Regions from separate parts of the Homo sapiens genome. Here all the other regions are linked to region 4. The links are contacts of gene promoters, found by promoter capture Hi-C in blood cells and fetal thymus (Javierre and others, 2016). All regions are on one chromosome and are shown on one strand. The core of a region is centred on a gene start or on the middle of the fragment in contact, and the rest is flanking DNA. Distances in the headings are between cores, read along the strand shown.

Evidence for each region. Contacts are between HindIII fragments. The CHiCAGO score rates a contact against its expected background, and 5 or more counts as called.
Region 1: a contact is called between the fragment with the promoter of ZNF135 here and the fragment with the promoter of ZNF835 in region 4, in 4 of 17 cell types (non-activated CD4 T cells, erythroblasts, activated CD4 T cells and 1 more). The highest score is 10.3, in non-activated CD4 T cells.
Region 2: the fragment with the promoter of ZNF606 here is called in contact with the fragment with the promoter of ZNF835 in region 4 in 4 of 17 cell types (non-activated CD4 T cells, erythroblasts, total B cells and 1 more); the score reaches 8.6 in non-activated CD4 T cells.
Region 3: the fragment with the promoter of ZNF256 here is called in contact with the fragment with the promoter of ZNF835 in region 4 in 4 of 17 cell types (neutrophils, activated CD4 T cells, total B cells and 1 more); the score reaches 8.7 in neutrophils.

Annotation. Positions count from the first base shown.
Region 1 is chr19:58,054,929-58,060,821 of GRCh38, forward strand. It overlaps ZNF135 (zinc finger protein 135), which reads left to right and starts at 4,354. Exons shown (of 5, transcript NM_001289401.2): 1 at 4,354-4,382; 2 at 5,041-5,107. The coding sequence starts at 5,075. It also overlaps a transcript of ZSCAN1 not described here. The HindIII fragment of the contact is 3,956 bases long and covers 3,352-5,893 here.
Region 2 is chr19:58,001,090-58,006,365 of GRCh38, forward strand. It overlaps ZNF606 (zinc finger protein 606), which reads right to left and starts at 1,731. Exons shown (of 7, transcript NM_001348022.3): 1 at 1,307-1,731; 2 at 200-281. The coding sequence starts at 230. ZNF606-AS1 (ZNF606 antisense RNA 1) reads left to right here and starts at 1,805. Exons shown (of 4, transcript NR_036508.1): 1 at 1,805-1,957; 2 at 2,122-2,247; 3 at 3,294-3,611; 4 at 4,818-5,276. RefSeq lists an enhancer at 1,663-2,082. The HindIII fragment of the contact is 14,498 bases long and covers 846-5,276 here.
Region 3 is chr19:57,945,120-57,950,490 of GRCh38, forward strand. It overlaps ZNF256 (zinc finger protein 256), which reads right to left and starts at 2,587. Exons shown (of 3, transcript NM_005773.3): 1 at 2,323-2,587. The coding sequence starts at 2,355. RefSeq lists enhancers at 1,996-2,075, 2,566-2,665, 2,736-2,825. The HindIII fragment of the contact is 12,388 bases long and covers 1-5,371 here.
Region 4 is chr19:56,668,813-56,674,616 of GRCh38, forward strand. ZNF835 (zinc finger protein 835) reads right to left here and starts at 2,945. Exons shown (of 2, transcript NM_001005850.3): 1 at 2,764-2,945. LOC105372473 (a long non-coding RNA gene) reads left to right here and starts at 3,167. Exons shown (of 4, transcript XR_936110.4): 1 at 3,167-3,619. The HindIII fragment of the contact is 4,177 bases long and covers 1-3,039 here.

The sequences.
Region 1 (5,893 bases), core at 3,104-5,603, 1.4 Mb after region 4:
GTCTCCAAAGAGTGGGCCCGCCTCTCCTGCTAGGCTGGAGCAGAGTGTGGGCAGGCGGTGACGTCACAGCGGGGAGCCAGCCTCGGACTCGGCTTCTCACCCGTCCCCAACTCATTGTTGTCGGACACTCGTCCCCTTTCAAGCAAAAGCCTTAAAAGTTTTTGCCTTTTTCTTTTTCTCCTCCCGACTTCACTTGGAAACACAGTGTTGGGCTGACTGTGAATCCGCACAGGCAGAGACATTTTTCCAAGTCGCCTTCTAAATCAAAAGCCTTTGGACTTACCCACGTCACATCCGCCTGCTGCTGCTTCTCAACCAAGCTGCCCCCACTCTCGGCCTCTGTCCCCGATGGCCCTCTCGGGCTGTGCAGGTCCCACGGACCCACCGCTGCCTTCACTTCATCCTCGCTGCCGCGCTTGCCTTCTCACGCTTGCCTTCTCGGAGCGCCCCCTAACCGCGCCTCCGGACCTTGCTTCCCGGCTCCCTCAGGCATCCCCAGCTTTTCCCTGCAGTCCCCACTGGGGGCTCCTGGCTCTATCCTATGCCTTAATTGCTGGTGGGCTCCAGCTCCCCTCCTGGCACCTTCTCTCTCATCCTGCAAAGGAGGAGCTTCTTCTACAGAGCTCAGGATGGAGGGTGGGGTCTTGGCCCCGCAGTCAGCCCATTACTCTCGGAAGCCCCCCTGAGCCTTCTCTCAGGCGCAGATTGATCGTCTCAGACAACGGGATGTGTAGAGATAGCTCTCCCGAGTGCCCCCACTTGTTGGGAGCCAGGGGCTCATTCCATGCTGTTTCCATCTCGGTCTCCACCTGCTGGAGGCACAATCACAGCTCAGTTTGTTGGTGCCAGAGTTGCACAAGAAAGTGGGTGCCATTGAACACGAGGCATCAGTCAGGCTCCAGCCTACCTGGGCTGGCCCCAGAGACATCCATCTGGTGTCCCTCAGTTCTCCAATTGAGTTTGTCCAAATAACTCATCTTCCCTTGTGCAAAAACAAAAAACAACAACAAAGAAAACAACGCAAACTGCCTCCCCTCTGGGGTTCCCACTCCCCTCAGAGGGACCACCACCTTCCAAGGCCCCACAAGGATTTTTGATTGCCCTGGGAACCCAGCTCCCAATCCCTCTCAGTTCTCTTTTCTCCTCTGCACCATCAGCCCCAGGCTCTCTCCCCATTTCTTGAATGCCTGCAGCTGCCTCTAAGCAAACTCTGCCTCCAGCCCGTTCCCTCTGCCCCATCCCCATCCTGCAGCCAACAGGGTCCCTCTAAAATGCAGACACTGAAAAGACAAAGCCCAGCAGGGTAGCTCTATAGTGTCCTTTGTGGCCCTGCTGCCTCCACAGCCCCCAGCACTGGGATGGTGGAGGCTGGTGTCCTTAACTCACTGTGTCTCCACCTGACTCCACACTGCCTCTCACCCTGGCCTCCTCCTGTGCCTAGAACAGTCTCCACTGCCATACTTGACCACACCCAGCATACAACAGGTCCTACAGAGTGAAGGGATGAGTGACTCAATGAGTGAGGGGAAGTCCCTGTGGAGACACCGGGACACCATTGTGGGCTGCAGTTTCCAGCCGGGGAAGCCTCCCTCGACCTCTGAGGGGAGGTGGGCCACCCCTTGAGGGCCACTCTCAATGCGCTCCACCTTGGCTGACGGAAGCAAGGACGTGGCCCAGGATCCTGGAGGGCCACTCCTGTGTGCGCCACCTTGGCTGACAGAAGCAAGGACGTGGCCCAGGGTCCTGGAGGGCCACTCTTGTGTGCTCCACCTTGGCTGACGGAAGCAAGGACGTGGCCCAGGATCCTGGAGGGCCACTCTTGTGTGCTCCACCTTGGCTGACAGAAGCAAGGACGTGGCCCAGGGTCCTGGAGGGCCACTCTCACGTGCTACACCTTGGCTGACAGAAGCAAGGACTTGGCCCAGGGTGCTGGACCAGTTGTGGCAGCTGCTGCAACTCACGAAAGCCACCACGTGGTGTTCTTCACCTAACTTGCCCAGTCCCAAGCCCCTGCCCGAGCTGCAGTGAGACAGAGCACTAGCCCCTCTCTTCTCTTTGGGTTCACCCCAGCTGTGGAAGCCCCAGCACCTCAGCACGCCTCCCTTGCCCTGTGCCTTCCTCTGCCAGCACCCCCCAAAGACTCCAACACCCCCATCACGATGTGCCCCAGTCTCCTGTCCTCCAGCCCTTGTCACAGGAGCTGTGAGCCCAGCCCTGGGCACTTCACGCTCTGGAAGACCGGAGTCTCAGACGCCACCTTTCTCCCTGGCAGCCAGGGTCTCTTGGGTCAGAGGAGGCCTGGACACTGCCAGGTTTTGAAGCTGTCAAAAAGATTTTTTTTTTAAAGGGAGAAATATGTCCAGGGAGCTGTAACTGTTACAGTATATTTTAAATGTATGTGTTGAACAGATTAACTTTTTGAACATTAACATACAGCATGACACAGTTCTGCTATCCATGCTGTGATTGCAGGATTGCTTGGAAGCTGTACTGATGTGCAGCCCACCTGCTCATGGTGGGGGGTCCTGTTCCAGGCCACAGAGAGGCAACCAGCAATGCTCTGCTTGGAGATTCGTACAGGAAGCCAAGAAGGAGCTGAGAGGGGCCCAGCCAGTGGTTACAAGAGACAGCAGGAGGTTCAGACCACAGCAAGGGTGGCACTGGAGTAGCCTCCAGCTCATCTTATTTGACTGGTAGAGTGTTATTAAAGCCTTTGAAATCCCTACCAGCTTTTAAAAATCAAGAGATTTCACATAGAAATCCTGATCTCTGGGTTCTTTAGAGAAATCCAGACCTGGGACGCTGGGCTTGCCAGTCCGCACGACCCCACTTGGCTGGAGCCAAGCAGCACTTGCCCCTGTAGAAAGAGCCCGCCCCTGCAAAAGCATGTACGGTTTAGAAACCTGGCTGAGAAAAACAGAGGATCAGAAGGTCTGAGGGAGGAAACAGAGGGGCAAGTTTGAGGGAGCTGGGCAGGGCCGCCTGGCCACCATCAGGGCTGAGCAGGCTCAGTGTGGCACCACTGACAGCTTCTCACCAGGACTATCAGACCGCTTGGGAAAAAGACTTCACCATGAGTTGTGTGTTCATACCTTTTGATCCAGTAAAAGGAAACGGTTGGGGGTGGGGGTGGGGGGCAAGAGTATACATTTTGTGAAAGAAAAAATACACAAAAAGATGTTTTGTGGCATTTGGGTTTGTGAGTTCGAGAACTGAAAAACGGCATTTTATGTATAATGGAAAGCCTCTTTACTGCTGTAGAGTGAAAAGCAGGCTGGCTTTCAGTGCGACGGTCACAAATGTGGGGCTTTACAGTACTTGGAATGTACAGGACGCCCTTAAAAGCCAAGAAGCTTGCCTTTGCTTTGTTTACATCAGTGCATTATGATTTTGAGCCATTATATCTCTTCATAATTGCCACTGTTTTAGGGCTTATGAAATTTAAAGTCTTAACTTGTGTGTTAACCAGCCAAATCTTTGCAAGTGTCTGTGTGTGGTACGAGAATTCGTATTGTGTTCTCTGCTGTTTTCAGAGTTGTTTCAGTCAAAGAAAAAAAAATGCCCGTCTTAAAACTTTTCCTCTGCTTCAAATACAGCTCCCAAGCCCAGGCTGATTGGAATTAATCTGTCCTCCCTTAAAAGGGCAAAAGCACAAGGCTCAGCCCTGGCTTTCCCAGCTCCTCTGGTCTCGCTGCTCCACGGACGTGTGACGTACGCTGGTGAAACGAAGCCCGCTTGAATGGGGGCTTCACTATTGTGTGCTGCTGAACCTAGGCCTAGCGCCTGGCAGGCTTTGGTGAATGTTCAGAAAATGACAATTCATTTCGTGTCAGCGAGGGCACACCAGCTTTGAATATTTTGCTGCTGTTCAAATGCACAATTTTGACAATTACCTAGCAATGTCCAAAGTCGTCATAATTGTTAGTGTCTTGCACGTGATGTTCCTTATAACCATGTAATAAATACAGTGTGAAGTCTCCATGGCTGCCTCAGTGTGGAAAATGCAAAGACTCCCGTGTGTGCGATCTTGGTGAATGTTTTGGTTGAAAGTATGTGTTTTGAAAAAATCATTGCTTTGTTTGCAGCAGTAAAACTGACGGTAGAGTTTCCAACACGAAAGCCCGTGTGGTCGCGCCGGGAGCTCACGGCGTTCCAAGCGGCACTTATCCCGCGTTGATGCCCAGGCACCCCGCGCGCCCTGTTTCACCAGGCCCAGTCACTCCAGCTCCAGCAGCACTGAGAGCTCACGAACGCCAAGGGCGAGAGCGAGGTGGGGGAGGGCGGCCGGAAATGCGCGCGCGGCTCTCTGGGAAATGGAGTTAGGCTCGCGCCGGCGCAGTGTCGGCTGCCGGTGCCGCGGCCTTTGTCTCGCAGTCAGGAGGGTGAGCTAGGCCGGCGAGGAGGGGGAGGGGAGGCCAGGCCGGGCCGGGCCGGGCCGGGTGCGGGGGGTCCGGGGATCTTCCTGAGGCCCTGGCGGGGCGAGTTTCCAGCAGCGCGCGTCTGTGTGGAGTCCGTTTTGCTGCCCGGGGCCTGGGGAAGGCCGTTTCGGGGCTGGCGGGGGCAGGCTTTGCGGGGCATCCCTAGTCTGAGAGGAGGGCGGGGCCCAACGCCCAGCTGGACAGGAGCTGCTCCGACGGCCCCTGAGGGAACGCGCGCCCCGCCCCTGGCCCCACCTCTGCCCCACACCGGGCACTGGGCCGCCACCTTTGTTGATGGAAGAGAGAAACTGAGGCATAGTGCCCAGGGCCAGGGGACCGCAACCACCCGGCCCTTGTCACTGTAGCGTTAAGGCTCAGAGTCTGCGCAGCAGATATGTGTCCGCACCCGCCAGGCCTTCAGCTTCCCTCAGACAGGCGGGAAAACCCTAGGCTGCCCTTCTCCGAGCGGAGGGCCGCCCCACACACAGCAGGCGCTTAAACGGGTACGCGGGGCCCTGGACGGCTCTCCGCGGAGCTCCCCAGGCTCTGGCGCAGTTCCCCGGCTTGGGGACCTGAGCACCGCCTCTGCCTGCCCCAGCTGCTCACCTCCCCTTTCCCACAGAGCAGGGCCAGCCGTTCCTGCCAGAAGCCAGGGCATGACCCCTGGGGTGCGCGTCTCCACAGACCCGGTGAGAATCTCGGCCTCCTTGCGCGTGTCCTCCACCTCGTGCCCGGCCTCCTCGCGCGCGGCCTTCTCACGCCCGGCCTCCTCTTTGCACCCCGTCCCTACTCGCGCTCAGCCTCCTCCTTGTGCCCGGCCCCTACTTGCGTGCCCGGCCCCTACTCGTGCCCGGCCTCTACTCGCACAACTGGCCTCTACTCGCGCACCTGGCCTCTACTGGTGCCCGGCCTCTACTCGTGCCCGGCCTCTATTTGCACATCTAGCCTCTACTCGTGTCCGGCCTCTACCTGCACACCCGGCCTCCTAAAGTCCGCGCCAAGCTCCCCAACCACAGCCTGCCTCTGAAAGGACCGCCCACGCCGCGCTGGAGGTCAGCGGGCACGGGTCCCTGTCTGAGTGGGCTTTATGTTTGTGCGGCCGTCATTGCATACCTGAGGCTGGGTGATGTCAGAAAATTGTAGGTGCCCCGGCTCTGCAGTCTGAAGTTGAAGGCCTTAGCATGCTCTGCGCTCCAAGATGGCGCATCGAGTGCCGCTTCCTCAGACGTCATGGAGGCCAAGGGGGCGGAACTCGCCTTTTTATGATGACATTAACCCCACCCATAAGCCACCAGAAGAAACCAGCCTCCTGTAGGAATGTCAGAAAACCCGTACAAGGGGACTGGTGCGATGGCTTGTAGCTGTAATCCCAGCTATGGGGGAGGATTGCTTGAGCCCAGGAGTTGGAGGCTGCAGTGAGCCATGATGTGCCACTGCACTCCAGCCTGAATGACAGTGGAACCCTGTCTCTAAAA
Region 2 (5,276 bases), core at 481-2,980, 1.3 Mb after region 4:
GAGATGACTATAAAACATAAAAGTTAGTGTCTTTTATGCCAACAATTTTCCTCCTTTACCACCAATCAGTTCTAATTTTGTACCAAGATAGACAGACCCCCTTCCATCCTCAAAAGTCCTCAGCCCATCACCAGCTCTGACCCATGACTGCAGCAGCTAATGATAGGGGAGGCCCAGGAGAAACACAACTTGGACTCACCCCAGGAGGCCCACGGGTTGATGGCTGCCATCCCGAGGACTGATTGACCAGGCACCTGCCCAGGAACACAGCAAATCCCAACCTAGTGACAAAAGTGAAAAAAGACAAAACTAGTCCTTTCTCACAGAAGACCAAGTGGGAACAAAGAAGGGAATCCATCCACCGAAGCAACAAAAAAACTTGTAAGGAGCATCGTAAGAAAAGAGAATTTACATGTCAAAAAAGTAACACAATTCCTGGAGAGAAATGAAAGGTAATTTGCATAAGCTGGAAAAAAGAGCATGATCCTGAATGAGAGGGTACAAATTTGTCAGCTATTCCCAAGAGACAGCCAGTCACAACACAGATGGAACTTTTGGATTAATCTGACAATTATTGTAAAATCAACTTGCAATCCTCATATATTAGTGGTTGCCTAGAGCTGGGGGAAAAATGAAATGGGGAGTGACTGCTTAAGGGGAACAAGGGTTTCTTTGTGGGGTGATGAAATGTTCTAAAATTAGATAATGGGGATGATTGCACAACTTTATTAATATACAATAAAACCGGTGAATTGCACACTTTTAAGTGCTTAAAGTGAACATTATGTTATGCAAATTTAATCCCACCTCCAAAAAAAATTCACCTCCAAGATTTACTAAGCCTAAGCTTGTGTGTGTGTGGAGGACTTAGAGATGGGCCTGGCGCCCAGACCCCTAACTCCTCAGGTTCCAGATCTTTGTACAAGTCAGCAACCTCTCGAATGGATTCCTGGGTATGTGTATAAAGCACTAGAACACACAGTGGGCCTCAGGAGCACCGGAATCAGCGCGAAAACGCAGAATGCAAACCGTACTTTGCACCATTATTTGCAACTTGACAGTGACCGCCGCCGTCACTGCATGTTTAAGGGAACCCGGAGCTGTTTCCAACCCAGGTCTGACGTCCTTCACAGTGCTTTGTGTGAACTGGCAGGGGGAGAAACGACGGCTGGGGAACGAACGGGGTTATTCGTCCCATCAATGGCCTCAGAAGCATCCTTATCACCTGCTTCCAGAGCTCCCGACCCAAATTTCCTCCTCAAGACCGACGCGGCCGCGACGCTGCAAAAGCTCGTCCCGGCCTCACCTGGCTCGCGGCCGGCGGTCCCCCTTGAAGGCGGCGCAGCAGGATCGGGGTCTGCCCGCCTGGGGCGTTTGGCTTTTGTCCCGCGCCGAGGTCCGGCCCAGGAGTGCGCTTGGGAGCTCCCGGCGCGGCCTCGGGGACAAAGGCCCGCGGAGCCGACGTGCAGCAGAGTTCACCCAGGCCCGTCCGACCAGAAAACGAAGAACGCCCGGAGGCGGGAGGCCGGAGGCAGGCTGCTGGCTGGAGAACCGACGGCAACGACGGCGCAAAGCCGGCGCGGAAAGGGCAGGCGCAGGACCCACCCTGACGCCGCCTCTCCCAGCCGGCTCTCCTGACCCCCCAAGCCCCGCAGCTACGGCGGCCCCACAGCCTGAGCAAAGGCCTCACCTCAGCCGCGGACAATGGCGGCTGCTTCCCCGGCGTCGACCGGAGCGCGCCGCGGGGTCTGCTGGGAGCTGTAGTTCCAGGCGGGCACTTCCGGCGTCGGGCAGCGGCGCCGCCATGACAGGTTCCTGGGCCGCGCCGCCTCGCCCTGCCTGGGCGGGGTTGGGACCTTTCTGGCACCTGCGTCGAAGCCGGCGGCAGGATGGACTTTGTTGTCCCGGTCCCAGACCACCCTCCTCCACCGTCGCCTCCCACTGCAAAAAGGCCTGGGTAAGTCGCGGCCCCGCGGGCCTCGGTTTGCCCATCCGCAAAATGGCGCCTCGTGGTACCGGGTTTCCCGGGAGGAGCTCGGCGAGTTCTCAGCGCTCTCGAGGGATCCTTCCATTTGGCGTTCGCAAGATTGTGAGAAAGTGACTGCTGTTATTCTCTTTAAGATAAGGAACCTAATTCGAGCTACCCTTCTCTGTGAAGCTCGACGGCTGAGAACGTCAGGGCTCGTTCCCAAGTCTCTTTCCAGAGGCCAGGCTTTATGGGAGCATGGGTTACCAGCGACGCACCCTGTGAGTTTTCCTCTATCGATATGCATGGAGCGGTTCGGGAGCGGTGGCTCATTCCTGTAGTCCCAGCACTTCGGGAAGCTGTGGCGGGAGGATCAGTTGAGTTCAGGAGTTCGACACCACCCTGGGCAACATAGCGAGACCACATCTCTACAAAAAAAATACAAAAATTAGCCCGGTGTGATGGCGCGCGCCTGTAGTCCCCGCTACTTAGGAGGTTGCGGTGGAAGGATTGCTTGAGCCTGGGAGGTCAAGGTTGCAGTGAGCTATGATCGCACCACTGCACTTCAGCCTGGGCAACAGAGCAAGACCCGGCATTAAAACAAACAAAAACGGGCCGGGCGCGGTGGCTCACAGCTGTAATCCCAGCACTTTGGGAGGCCAAGGCAGGTGGATCGCCTGAGGTCAGGAGTTCCGAGACCAGTCTGGGCAACATGATAAAACCTCGTCTCTACTAAAAATACCAAAAATTAGCCGGGCTTGGTGGAGGGCACCTGTACCCAGCTACTTGGGAGGCTGAGGCAGGAGAATCGCTTGAACCCGGGAAGCGGAGGCTACAGTAAGCCGAGATCAAGCCATTGCACTCCAGCCTGGGCAGCAGGGCAAGACTCTGTCTCAAAAAAAGGGACTGAGGGACTGTAGGTGGTGATACCAAAGAAAGCATGGCCATTTAGGAAGCTAGACTTGAGTGAGCAGTGGGCAAGAGAGATTTTGAAGATATTTCCACTAGTAATGGAGGATCATTTTAAAAAGCTGGCCTGTGGGTTGGGCTTTTGTTGTTGGGTGGTGTTGGCACTCACTGTGGGTGGGCAAAGGGGAGTAGCCCTTTCAGAGGGAGAGGAAAAGTTCAAGTAGGACAGGCTGAATTCAAGGGAGAGGAAAATTTCAAGTAGGACAGGCTGAATTCGAGGGAGAGGACCATGAGAGAGGTAAGGTGGAAGGGGCAAGGTGTTGGGACAGGCCCCAGCTGGCAGGAAGGTGAACCCAGTCAGAGTGGGCACTGAGAGGAAAGCAATCTATGGATGGTACAGCCACAATTTCCATCTCAGGATCAAGCAGAGAAAGAGAGGCTGGAGAAGGAAGAGTGACAGAAGTAAGAAGAGAGTGTCTCTCCACTTCCACTCCAGCCCCCTACAGCTCATCCTCCAGCAGGCAGCCAAGGGCACTTTTAGGATCTCACATCAGGTCCTTGCCTCACATTCTGCACTGGCTTCCCAAGTAATTAAAGTAAAATCCAAATTCCAGCTCACAGCTTAGAAAACTCAGCAGGACTGGCCTCTGTCCTATCCCACACCCCACCTCAGTCCCTCAAGCTCATCTCCTGTCATTCCTGCCCATTTCTGGACCCCAGCCACTCCTCAAACAGGGTAAGTCCATTCCTGCTTCAGGGCCTTTGTACGTATTGTTTCCTCTTCCTGGAATCTTCTTCCTTGTACAGCCCCAGGGTTTTCTTTTTTTCATCCAGATCACAGCACAGATGTCACATCCTGGTAACAGCCAGCTGTGACTCATCTCCCTAATTCTCAATTGTATTACTCTCTTTTTATTTTCTTCGTATCGTAACTGATAGTCTCATACAGTACAGAAGCCAAGTTTTAAGATATGCAATCACCAAATACCTGCTACACAAACCTCAATGTTCATATAAAATAAGACTAGAATTCATATTCTAAAGAGAGATGAGGTAGCTCTGTTCACTTTTGAGAGGGAACTCAAATGAGAGAGATACCTTTGACCTAAAGGTGTCAGGAAACCAGATGAAGAAAAACACCCCTGCTATGATTTGAATGTTTTTATCCTCTCCAAAATTCATGTTGAAACTTACTCCCCAGTGCAGTAGTGTTGGGAGGCAGGGTCTAATGGGATTTATGGAGGTCATAAGGCTCTGCTGTCATGAATGGATTAATGTTGTAAACCAAAAAATAAAATTCTAAGCCCCCCACCCCCCAACCATATGAATAGACCCCTCCTCTCAGCCAAGGGCATTCCAAAGTTAATTTGAAAAATGAGTTCGGGCCATGATGGGAAGCAGAAGCTGGACTTGCCTCATTATACCCTCCTCCCTTCTAGAATTAGTGATAGAACAGACTCTTTAAGTCTGATAAGAAACATTTACAGTCTGTTATCTCCGGAGGTTTCATCTGCTTGGTAAAACCTTGAGTTCCACAACCCCAGACATTCCTTTCTATTGACAATAACTCTTTAAATCAATTGGCAATCAGAAATCTTTAAATCTGCCTATAACCTGGAAACTTTCTGTACCAGTATACATCTTATATGTATTGATTGATGTCTCATGTCTCCCTAAGATGTATAAAAGCAAGCTGAACCCTAACCACCCTGGGCATGTCCTCAGGATCTCCTGAGAGCTGCGTCAGGGGCCACTGGTCACCATATTTGGCTCAGAGTAAATCTCTTCAAATATTTTACAGAGTTTGACTCTTCGTCAACAATGCCATTGTAAAAGGTTCATGGAGAGATTCTGCATGTGCTTGCATTCTCTTTCTCTCTCTCTCTTTCTTTCTCTCCCCCCACCCCCACCCTCCACCACCCTGCCCTTTACCTTCTGTCAGGTGAGGATGCAGTGTCCAAGGCACCATCTTGAACTCATCATCGCCAAATATGTGAGCACCTTGATGTTGGACTTCCCAACCTCCAGACCGTAAGGCAGTACATTTCTTTGTAAATTACGCAGTCTCAGCTATTCTGTTACAGCAGCACAAATGGACTAAGACAACCCCCGAGATAGGAAGGGGTAAGGTAAATGCAATGAGAGTTGGGGTTTTCGATCTTAGTCCAGTAAAGGAGCTGGAACTGTTCTGTATAAACAAAGGGCAAGGTAATTGCTACATAGATTCTTTTCTTATTATTGCTGATTCTTATCCTAAAATAAAGGACATTGCCACTACACATCCTCTAGAATGACCAAAAATAAAAATACAGCATCAAATGGGACGACATGGTGCCAACTGGAATTCTCATACCCTGCTGATGGGAGTATAATGTGGTACAGTCACTTTGGAAAAAAGTTT
Region 3 (5,371 bases), core at 1,337-3,836, 1.3 Mb after region 4:
CTCCTGACCTTGTGAGCTGCCCGCCTCGGCCTCCCAAAGTGCTGGGATTACAGGCGTGAGCCACCACGCCTGGCTGAACAGCTTATTAATTAAAGACAAATACTCATAGCCTGTGAAAGAATACCACACTCCACACAGGGCCATACGGAGGTAGTACTCCAGAAAAGAGTAACAACCAGGTGCTGTAGAATGTAAGTTTTGTAGCATCAAGATGGAGAAGCTCCACTGGTCCCCAGAGGAGGGGACTGGCTTGTTTGAATAACTCAAAAAATTGATAGGGAACTGAAACCCACTACAAAGTAATAAGCAGGAACTGTTCTGGTTCCCTGGATAAGAATGGATAAGAAGGGTTCATTTGGCTAAGAGAGCTTATTCATGGGAGCAAAGTGGGAAGGGGAATTTGTTCTCAGGCCATCTAAGGCTGTATCGTTTTCATCAGATGTCAAGGCGACATATCATACTGGGCCTTAATTTCCGGCCTTATACCGCAACTTGGCAGGCAGCATCCAGAGTGTGGATATAAACAGGATCCAAAATCCCAGACTTCCCACAGCTTACACTAGTGGAAGCAGCCTCAAAAATTTCTTTGAAGGCCTCCCTGCCAGGCTGTATTCCTTGCCTCAGACATAGCCACACAGAACCACAGGTGAATCACAGATAACCATGGCCCTATTCCACTTCTGTGCTGCACTTACCATCCCCTTGAGAGTCATATATCCACCTAAAGCTCATTTAAATCCCAGCCTCACTGGTCGTTCATCTCACACACAATGACTCTCACAAATGACCACATGACACTAACTTAATCTTCCAGCCTGAATGAAACACCCAGGCCCCATCAAGTTATCACAAAATCCTGGATACCCATAAAGTGGTGAATAAGCACGAGTTTTGGCCTGAGTGTCCTATGCGTTTGCATCCATCTCATGTCCATTCTTCTCTTGGGAGCCGTGGCCACTGCCAAACTACACTGTCTTTTACATACCTTGCCTTCATGACCACTTACTCTATCATCATCCTCCCAGTCTTGGCCCACTAACAGCTTTACAACCAAAACCTGGAGCTTGCCCCGCCTAACTGTGACCCACAGCTCACTAACCTTGGTGCGCACAACAGCCACATCTTGAATATCTGCACCCTGAACCACTCCCTAGATTTCAAGACCGGCACGTTCATCTGCCCACTTAACGCCTCCATTTAGTAGGCTCTGAAAGATCTGACTCTTAGCATGGCATAAACAAACCTGATATCCCTAGTGAATATTACTCCTATTGCCAATTTGTTCATCTTAGTTGATGAAACTTCTTTCCCTACAGCTGCTAATACCAAAAACCCTGGAGTCTTCTCTGAACCCTCTGTTTCACTCCCTCACCACCTACATTATGTAATTTAGTTGTCCCTTTTGAAACCACACATCCGGAATCTAACCACATCTCCTAAATCACGATCCTGGGCCAGTAACCCTCACTTGGACTAGTCTACCCTGATTTTCCTTCCTCCTCCCTCAACCCCCCAGTTTGTGCCCCACTGTGCACACAGATGAAGCCTGTGAAGACCTTGGTAAATTACCTCTTTTTTCTGATTCAAACTTGCTATTACCTCCTGAAAACACACTCAACTTCTCAGGCAGCCACTGCAGTCCTGACGCCTATCCTCCTGTTCTTTGCTTCCCACCAGAAAGCAAGGAGACTTGTGGCTTCATAAATGCACCCAGCTCCGTACTGCACCTAAGCATTTGCACATCTTGTACCTTTCTGGAAAAACTTTCCACACCCGTTCACATGGCTGCCAGAAATTGGAACAACTCTATATACCGGCTAACATGGACATAGGACCCTGGGCTTGGGGTTCACCCAAGGTCTTCAGAACTAAGGGCTGGGGGAATGGCACTCCACAACCCAGAGAACCTGTGGGTGGGAGTTAGGGCTAGTGAGAGACTGGGAAACCCTCCCCTTCCTGGCGTAGATTTCATAACCCTTTACAGCCAAGGGAAACGTAGAAAGAGCCAGGCCTCAGAGAAGAGCATCTATGGCGGTATTAGATGGGCTCAAGCCACCCCGTAGCCCCATGCCTGGCCTTGGAGCCGGGTGCCCTCGCAATGGCTGTGTCACCTCTGTGCCCCAGGGCTCAGTGGCGCCTCTCATCAGGGGCTCCTTGCCAGTCGCGCCCTCCCTTCCCTAGCACACCAGGTGTTGGAAACGGGAGCCCCTCCGGCGAGCCCCCGTGTCCTGTCCTGGGCAGCAGGGCCGCGAGCAAGCGCCCTCGGGGGTGCTAGGACTAGCGTGGGGAGGGCGGGGAAGGCCCAGAGGACGCGGCACATACCTGGGCCGGGGCCGTCAGCTCGGCCGCCGCCATCTGACTCTGTGAGCGGAGCGGGGCCAGAGAGGATGTCCTTATTCCGGGCCGGGCCTGGGTACCCTGGGCGCCGCCGAGCCTCAGCCACGCCTCTGTGCAGCGGGGAAGACTCCTCTCGCGCCTTCTCAGTCAGTCACGGATGATGCTGACCCAGCGCTCCGGGGCTTTCTACCAAGTAATCAGTCCAGACAAATGCCAAAACGACCGCCACAAGGAGGACAACGGAAGTCCCGCCGCGACCGCGCGTGCGCTTACGGAAACACCACCTTTCGGAGGCCTCATTGGCTGAAGGTCGCCGTCGCCCAACGCAGGCCATTCTGGGTAATGTTCCCACAGGCGCACGGCGGGAGAGTGAGGGTCGCCTCCACCTCCTTCCGGAAGTAAAGGCCAAACCCCTGTAGGGGGCGCTGGGAAATGGACACTCCAGGTTGGGGCGGAGGCGAGGCTTCGTTCTTTCTTAAAGGAGACGTACCCAGGTTTCTACCGATTGCTGTCTGCCAGTGTTTGTTTGGAGACGTGTCATTTCATGTGTTCCCAGAGGCACATATCCAGATGCACATATTATTACATACAGTCAGTCAGTCACAAAATATATCCACTGGTTGAGAAAGCAAATAAATATGACTATGTTGCGGCCGGGCGCGGTGGCTCACGCCTGTAATTCCAGCACTTTGGGAGGTCGAGGCGGGCGGATCACGAGGTCAGGAGATCGAGACCATCCTGGCTAACTCAGCGAAACCCCGTCTCTAAAATACAAAAAATACCACAAAAAAAAAAAAAAAAAGAAAAATTAGCTGGGTGTGGTGGCGGGCGCCTGTAGTCCCCAGCTACTCCGGAGGCTGAGGCAGGAAAATAGCTTGAACCCGGGAGGCAGAGCTTGCAGTGAGCCGAGATCGCGCCACTGCACTCCAGCCTGGGGGAAAGAGCGAGCCACTGTCTCAAAAAAAAAAAAAAAAAAAAAAAAAAAAAAAGACTATGTTGCAATTCAAACGCATGCACTCAAGCACTGGAGTCAGTTTTCTCAGTCTCTGTATGTTTGATTAGGGACAAGAAAAAAAACACTCCACACAGGTTCATGACAAAGAGGATGAAGGTGGGATGCGGAGGCACCCTGCAGCAGCAGGACATAAGTAGATCCCTGTCTCTGGGTCCCTCTCGTGCCTGTGTAGTCAAACATTGTGTCCAATTCACTAAGCAACACTTGCATGAATCTAATCTCACTTTCTCCATGCCTTTATATTCACTTCTTTTTAATAATTTGACATCAAGCTCAGAAAGAGAACAACAAAAGGAATGGTATTTTGAAAAGGCATGATGGCTAGCTAGAGCATTAACAGGTGGAACAAAGGGTGCTCTGAATCCCAAATGTAGGGTGTATCTTAAATTCAAGATCTCTTCTCAACGCTGAAATGATTATCTTTGCCCCCATTAGTTACGCTCTTGTTGCCCAGGCTGGAGTGCAATGGTGCGATCTCGGCTCACCACAACCTCTGTCTCCCGGGTTCAAGCGATTCTCCTGCCTCAGCTTCCCAAGTAGCTGGAATTACAGGCGCCCGCCACCGTACCCGGCTAATCTTTTTTTTTTTTTTTTTTTTTTGTATTTGTATTTTTAGTAGAGACGGAGTTTCGCCATATTGGCCAGGCTGGTCTCGAACTCCTGACCTCAGGTGATCCACCCACCTCGGCCTCCCAAAGTGCTGGGATTACAGGCGTGAGCCACTGTGCCCGGCCCTTTGCCCCCATTATTATAGGGCTGTTCTGCATAAAAAATTGATACGATATCAGAAAAAGAATTGTAAAATACAAATTACAGAAAGCTACTAATAATGGGTGTCGCTTCGCCAGCCAGAAACCTCTGTGGTCGCGCCTCTGCTTGAGTTTTGCTCACACCCGCTGGGCTTGTTCCACCCACTCGGCCCAGCAGGCTGCACCTGGATCCCACACCTACCAAGGGCGAGCCAGGCGCGGAGCCGCAAGGGGTGTGTGAGCGAGCAAGTGAAGGGTCCAGCCAGTGCACACAGCCAGGCACGCTGGCTGCTGCGGCGGGGCGGGCAGCTCCAGGCGCTGGCACAGGCGCCGGCTCCTTGCAAGTCTGCGACTGGACCAGACATACTGCAGGCGGCTTCTGCTGCAGGCACCAGCATCTAGACGAGGGAAAAATGGTGGCGCCGGAAAGCTCGGAGACACCAAGAACAGCAGAACCCCAAAGAGGGTGTTGCAGCATGTCACAGCCCTGGCTCCGGAGTCTCGAGGCCTGGGCTCCCGGAAGAGCCACAGCTCTTCTCTCCTTCCCGTTGCTTGCAGCCTGGCAAGCGGGGAGGTGTGTTTTGGGTGGGGTGTGTTTTCAGCTTGTTTGTGATATAGCTCTTTCAGTCCCGCTGCCCTGCTCTGGCTCGCTGCTGCTTCCCATCGTGGGGGGCGGCCACCCAGTGCTGGCTGAGGGCAGGAGGGCTATAGTGTTACAGCTCTGGCTCGGGGAATCCCAAAGTCTGGGCCTCCAGAAGAGTCGCCATTTTTCACTCATGCAGCCCAGAAGCATGGCTACTCAGCCAGGAATGTGTTACAGCCCCTTTCTCTCCTGCTGTTCGTTAGGTCCCAAGTTCTTGTCCCCCAAGTTCTTATCCCACGTCCAGGAAGAATGAGGTTATGCAGACAACTGGAGGGTGAGCAAGGCAGAGAAGGGTTTTATTGGACAACCCAACAGCCCTCAGGAAACCTGAAGGGAGTAGCTCACACCTGCATACAGATAGTCTCCGATGTCTGAGTCTGGCTGAGTCTACAGGTTTTTTATGGGCTCAGAATGGAGAAAGTGTGTGCTCATTGGTCCATGGGTGGTAGGAAGTGCATGCTGATTGGCCCATGGGCAGTCATGGGCGGGCCTGGGAAAAACACCATACCATTGGCCGAAAGGCGTCAAGGAATTTCTCTCTCTGGGTCACAGACTCCACCTGGAACTGGCAGCGTGGCCTCCAGGCTTCAGGCCATTCGTGGCTTGAAGGTGGGGTTTCACAGAAAA
Region 4 (5,804 bases), core at 1,695-4,194:
TAAGAACTTGCTGGTGGGGGCCAGGCTGGGTCGGCTCAGGTGCCACGTCCACCGGCATCCCCGGAGTGTGCAGGGGTACCCACCTCGTGTGTAGGGGGAGGGCAGGTGGGTTCACAGCGGGGTTGGGTAAACCTGGGTGTTGTGCACACACAAAGGAGCCCAAGGGGAGACACAGGCTTGCTTGGGGGCAGTAGAAGAAAGCTGTCTACTCCCAGCACTTCTGACACGTGGGCTTTCTCCACACCAACAACCAAGTCTCCAATCTGCTCTGACTGGGAGGCACAGGCAGCTACCAACCATAAAACTGCCTCAACCCCTCCTTGGGTTTGGTGATTTGCTCACATAGCTCATTGAACTCAGGGACATGCTTTATTTACGGTTACTGGTTTCCAATAAAGGATACAACTCAGGAACAGCCAGATGGAAGACACACAGGGTAAGGTATAAGGAGGAGCTCAGAGCACCATGCCCTCTCTGGGTGCTCGACAGCCCCAGAGCTCGGCAAACCCTAAGTTTAGGGTGGTTATGGGGGTTCCATGACACGGGCGTGACTGACATAGGTGTGATGACACTGGCCATCGGTGATGAACTCAACTTCCAGCCCTCTCCCCTCCCAGGAGGTAGGGGCTGGCTGAAGGCTGGAATGCTCATCAGGGCTAGCTCCCGTGGCAACCAGCCCATCCTAGGGGCCTATCAGGAGTCCTCCATTAGCATAAATGTACTTGGGGGTCTACCAGGAGTCCTCCATTAGCATAAATGTACTTGGGGGCCTATCAGGAGTCCTCCATTAGCATAAATGTACTTGGGGGCCTACCAGGAGTCCTCCATTAGCATAAATGTACTTGGGGGCCTATCAGGAGTCCTCCATTAGCATAAATGTACTTGGGGGCCTATCAGGAGTCCTCCATTAGCATAAATGTACTTGGGGGTCTACCAGGAGTCCTCCATTAGCATAAATGTACTTGGGGGCCTATCAGGAGTCCTCCATTAGCATAAATGTACTTGGGGGCCTATCAGGAGTCCTCCATTAGCATAAATGTACTTGGGGGCCTACCAGGAGTCCTCCATTAGCATAAATGTACTTGGGGGCCTATCAGGAGTCCTCCATTAGCATAAATGTACTTGGGGGCCTATCAGGAGTCCTCCATTAGCATAAATGTACTTGGGGGCCTATCAGGAGTCCTCCATTAGCATAAATGTACTTGGGGGCCTACCAGGAGTCCTCCATTAGCATAAATGTACTTGGGGGCCTATCAGGAGTCCTCCATTAGCATAAATGTACTTGGGGGCCTATCAGGAGTCCTCCATTAGCATAAATGTACTTGGGGGCCTATCAGGAGTCCTCCATTAGCATAAACACAGGTGTGGTTGCAGGGGGCTTATTAAGAGTTGCAGAAGACACTCCTTCTACCCCTGTCACTCAGGAAATTCCAAGGGTTTTAGGGGCTCTGGTACCAGGAGCTGGGGATAAAGATTAAACATATATTTCTTATTATATCACAAGATCACAGGAAGACACATGCATTACATCACACTCTGACACACACAGGGTCATACACAATCATACCTGCCCAGACACACACAGACATGCAGAGACACCCAAACCCATATCCAGGGACACACAGTCGCCCTCCTAACCCCCATGCAAGGAGGCAGGTGGGAAGCCATCACCTGCAGCCACACTCACACATGCACACAGGGTCCCGGGCACACGTAGCTACACACACACCCAGCCCCACACGTAGCTCCCTGTGTGAAGAGGTGCACAGAGACGCACAAGGTCACACATGCCACCTGCTCCACACAGGCCGGCCATTACTGGGACACACCCACAGGGGATGGCTGGACACATGTGCAGTCACACTCGGTGGATAGAGCTCCAGCATAGCCAAAGCCCACATGTGCAGCGTCTCCATCATGTGCAGATGCACACACTTCAGACAGCACGGCACTCTACAGGCTCGCACAGCCAGGTCACCCATCATTGTGCTGGCAGGCACACGGGCCGAGCCAGCCTACACGGCGGCACACCCAGACATGCACACGTGGGGTCACACACCTCACATCCAGGAGAACTTTCAGACTTGCCCAAAGGCAGCCACACGTGTATGTGACATGCTGTGATATGCAGACACCGCTTCACATGAACGAGCACATAACACACCGATAAAGTGTTACATGCCTTTACCTGCAGTCACCTGCCTGGGCTGGCACCACTGAGTGAGCAGGTGCAGACACAGTGACACTCGGGGACGGGCTCACAGGCAGTCACACACCTGCAAGGCCTGGCACCGCCGAGTGAGCAGGTACAGACACAGTGATGGGCTGGCACCGCCAAGTGAGCAGGGGCAGACGCTGTGACACTCAGGGACGGGCTCACAGGCAGTCACACACCTGCACCTGCTGGTACCGTCGAGTGAGCAGGTGCAGACGCTGTGACACTCAGGGACAGGCTCACAGCCAGTCACACACCTGCACGGCCTGGCACCGCCAAGTGAGCAGGTACAGACACAGTGACGGGCTGGCACCGCCGAGTAAGCAGGTGCAGATGCAGTGACAGGCTCACAGGCAGTCACACACCTGCACCTGCTGGTACCGTCGAGTGACCAGGTGCAGACGCTGTGTTACTCAGGGACGGGCTCACAGGCAGTCACACACCTATACGGGCTGACACCGCTAAGTGAACAGGTGCAGACACAATGGCACTCGGGGACGGGCTCACACGCGGTCACACACCTGCAGGAACACGCGCACACTACACACCGTTGCTCTCGCCTCCCGGTATCACCTTCGAACGCGCTGGCCGGCCCCCTCCTAGCCTGGTGCAGTCGGCTCCGCTTCTACTCAGTCTCGGGTCCTCCTGGGCCAACGCAGACCCTGGTGCCTCCTTCCTTAGACGAGCTAAGGTCAAGACTTCTGCTGCTGCGGAGGAGCCCGCGCACCAGGCCGGGGTGGACTGCGCCTGCGCATCGGGCCCGCCTGGTTCTTAGGAACTACGACTCCCAGGGGGCGCTGCGCGCTCGCCGGCACCGCGACTAAAGCTTGCAAAGCCTGGGTCATCGAAACTACAACTCCCAGAAGGCTAAGCGTCTGCACACGCTAGGTCCGCAGGGCGCTGACCCCTGGGGGCCCGAGGAGCGCCGGGCTGCTGCCCCGAGCCCCGCCCACTACAGCCTCAGTGCATGGCGGTGGGCGCTTCCAGTAACTCAGGGGTGGGACTTTTTTCTTGCTCAGGGGATGAGGCCGAGCCCACAGGCTTAGAAAGAAGGAACTTGAGTCCGGGCACCTGTCATCCCAGCGCTTAGGGAGGCCGAGGCGGGTGGATCACCTGAGGTCAGGAGTTCGAGACCAGCCTGGCCAATATGGCGAAACCCCCGTCTCTACTAAAAATACAAAAATTAGCCGAGCATGGTGGCATGCACTTCCAGCTACTTGGAAGGCTGAGGCGGGAGAATGGCTTGAACCTGGGAGGCGAGGGTTGCAGTGAGCTGAGATCGCACCACTGCACTCCAGCCTGGGTGACAGAGCGAGACTTCGTCTCAAAAAAAAAGAAGAAGAAAGAAGGAAGCTGAGGTTCAGACAGGCTAAGTCCCTACTGCAGGCTGCGGAATCTAAAAAGGTAGGTGCCAGGGTTTGCAACCCACACTTTTATTTTGGTCTCAGGTAGCTGATGTCATTCCAGTCTATGGCAAAGAAGGTGGCAAATCCATTAACATAGATGAAGAATTTCATTTTACTTTTTAGTTTTATTTATTTATTTATTTTTATTATGTATCATGCTTTTAATACAAACTTTAAAAAATCTGGAACAATAGAAACTGTACAGATTTGATCAATCTTTTTGTTTTGTTTTTAAACTAAAATCTCTAAACACACCAATGTCCTATTCCAAAATATTGCACAACATTCTGAATACAAAACCCTTGATTGTATTCCTCCTTCACTGAAGAAAAAACTTCATGACCCTGCTCCCCGGGCTCCTCTCCAGGCTTGCGTCAATGCCCCCTTCCCATCCCTAGGGAGAAAACTAGAGAATCTATAACTCACTGCATTGAGAAAAAGACATCATTCTGGACTAACAGTTTCCATTCTTCAGAAGATAATCCACCTTTTGATTTGTTCCTGGGAAACAGGGATAGATAGAGGATGGGGAAAGGGGAGAAAAGGTTTTATTTCTCCTCTTTTTTTTTTAAAGTTTGTTTTTCCTGAAAAAATATGTTTCTCTCATCTTTTTAAGAAAAAATCTTGAAAAGAAAAAAATTGTTTTTACGTTAGAAATATACATATATTATATATACCTCTTACATTTTACAAATGTAGCAAATTATTCAATACAAACGGACACCAAAAAATGTAAAAAATAAAAAAAAGTTTTCCTAAGAACCAGGTAAATTAGTGCAGATTTCTGTTTTTGTTTTCTTAAAAAAAATAAAATTGAAGCAAAAGTGCCTAGATTTGAGACAAGACAGACTGAACTGGGCCCAAGAGCCCAGCACTGGAGTCATGCTCCTGAACACACATTTTTCTTCGTATTTCAAAAGACACAAAGGGGTTGGTCTCCCCCCCTCTCCCTACATGTGAGAAACAAGCAGACCTGGTGTGGGTGGGTGCCTGTGTGTGTGGATGGGAGGAGGGATAGAAGGGGATGTAAGGCAGCATCCAACCTTTCCCAGAGAGAAGCTATCTGCTGGGCCTGTCACCTGTGTGGGAGCCGAGGATGAGGGAAAGGGTGGCCCAGACTGGGCTGGCCCCTGAGAAGTCTAGGGGAACAGATGGTGCTGGGCTGAGAAGCCAGGACATTGCCTGCCGGGGGAGGTAGAGCTGGTGCCTACTGCAGGGAGAGGAGGCTGGCAGTGCCGGCCTGGGCTGGACCCACTGCCATAGCAGTTGCCTACTTGGGGTCCCTGGGTAGGATGGAGTGGGTGGGGTGCCAGGGGCTTTGGTGCTTTCTGGTGATGGGACCCTGATGCCAAGTGCCCACTTTGCAAAGATGAAAAAGTTCATGACCCTGCTCCCTTGGCTCCTGTCCATGCTTGCCTGGCCTCCTGGGGTTGGAGGAACAAGCTCTCTCCTGGCAGAGGCAGGAGAGAGTTTTATTTTTTAGAAACAGTTTCGCTTTGTTGCACAGGCTGGAGTGCAGTGGTACAATCACGGCTCACTGCATCCTCGACCTCCCCAACTCTAGTGATCCTCCCATCTTAGCCTCCTGAGTAGCTGAGATTGCAGGCATGTGCCACCACACTGGCTAACTTTTTTTTAACTTTTATTTTTTGTAGAGATGAGGTGTCGCTATGTTGCCCTGGCTAGTCTTGAACTCCAATCCTTCCACCTCGGCCTTAAATAATTTTAATAGTTGACATGCACATGGCATTTACTATTGGCCGGCATTATTTTAAGGTGCCTGCTCTGAAGGAATTCTGTTAGCCTTCCTAAATTATTCCCTTGGCCATTGGAAACATAGGCATGAGATCATTTTTAGATAATTGGAAAAGCAGAGAAATCTGTGAAGATAGAATGGGAAAAAAAATGCATTTCACTAAACCAACATGCCATTGATTGTGAGATTCCACATTACTTTATGTAGCCCCACGGCTGCCCTTAAACCATGACACATGCTTTATTTACAGTTCATATTTTACTTATTCGTAGACCTCAAGAGGCATTCTGTGCTTCCCTCTTCCTTCTGGAAGCTTCATGAGAAGGGACATTTTCCTCAAAGGATGGACAACAGAAACAACTCAAATATTCATTTCCTTTAAATATGGTTTTTAAGACAATTTTCTTTAGAAAGCCACATTTACCTG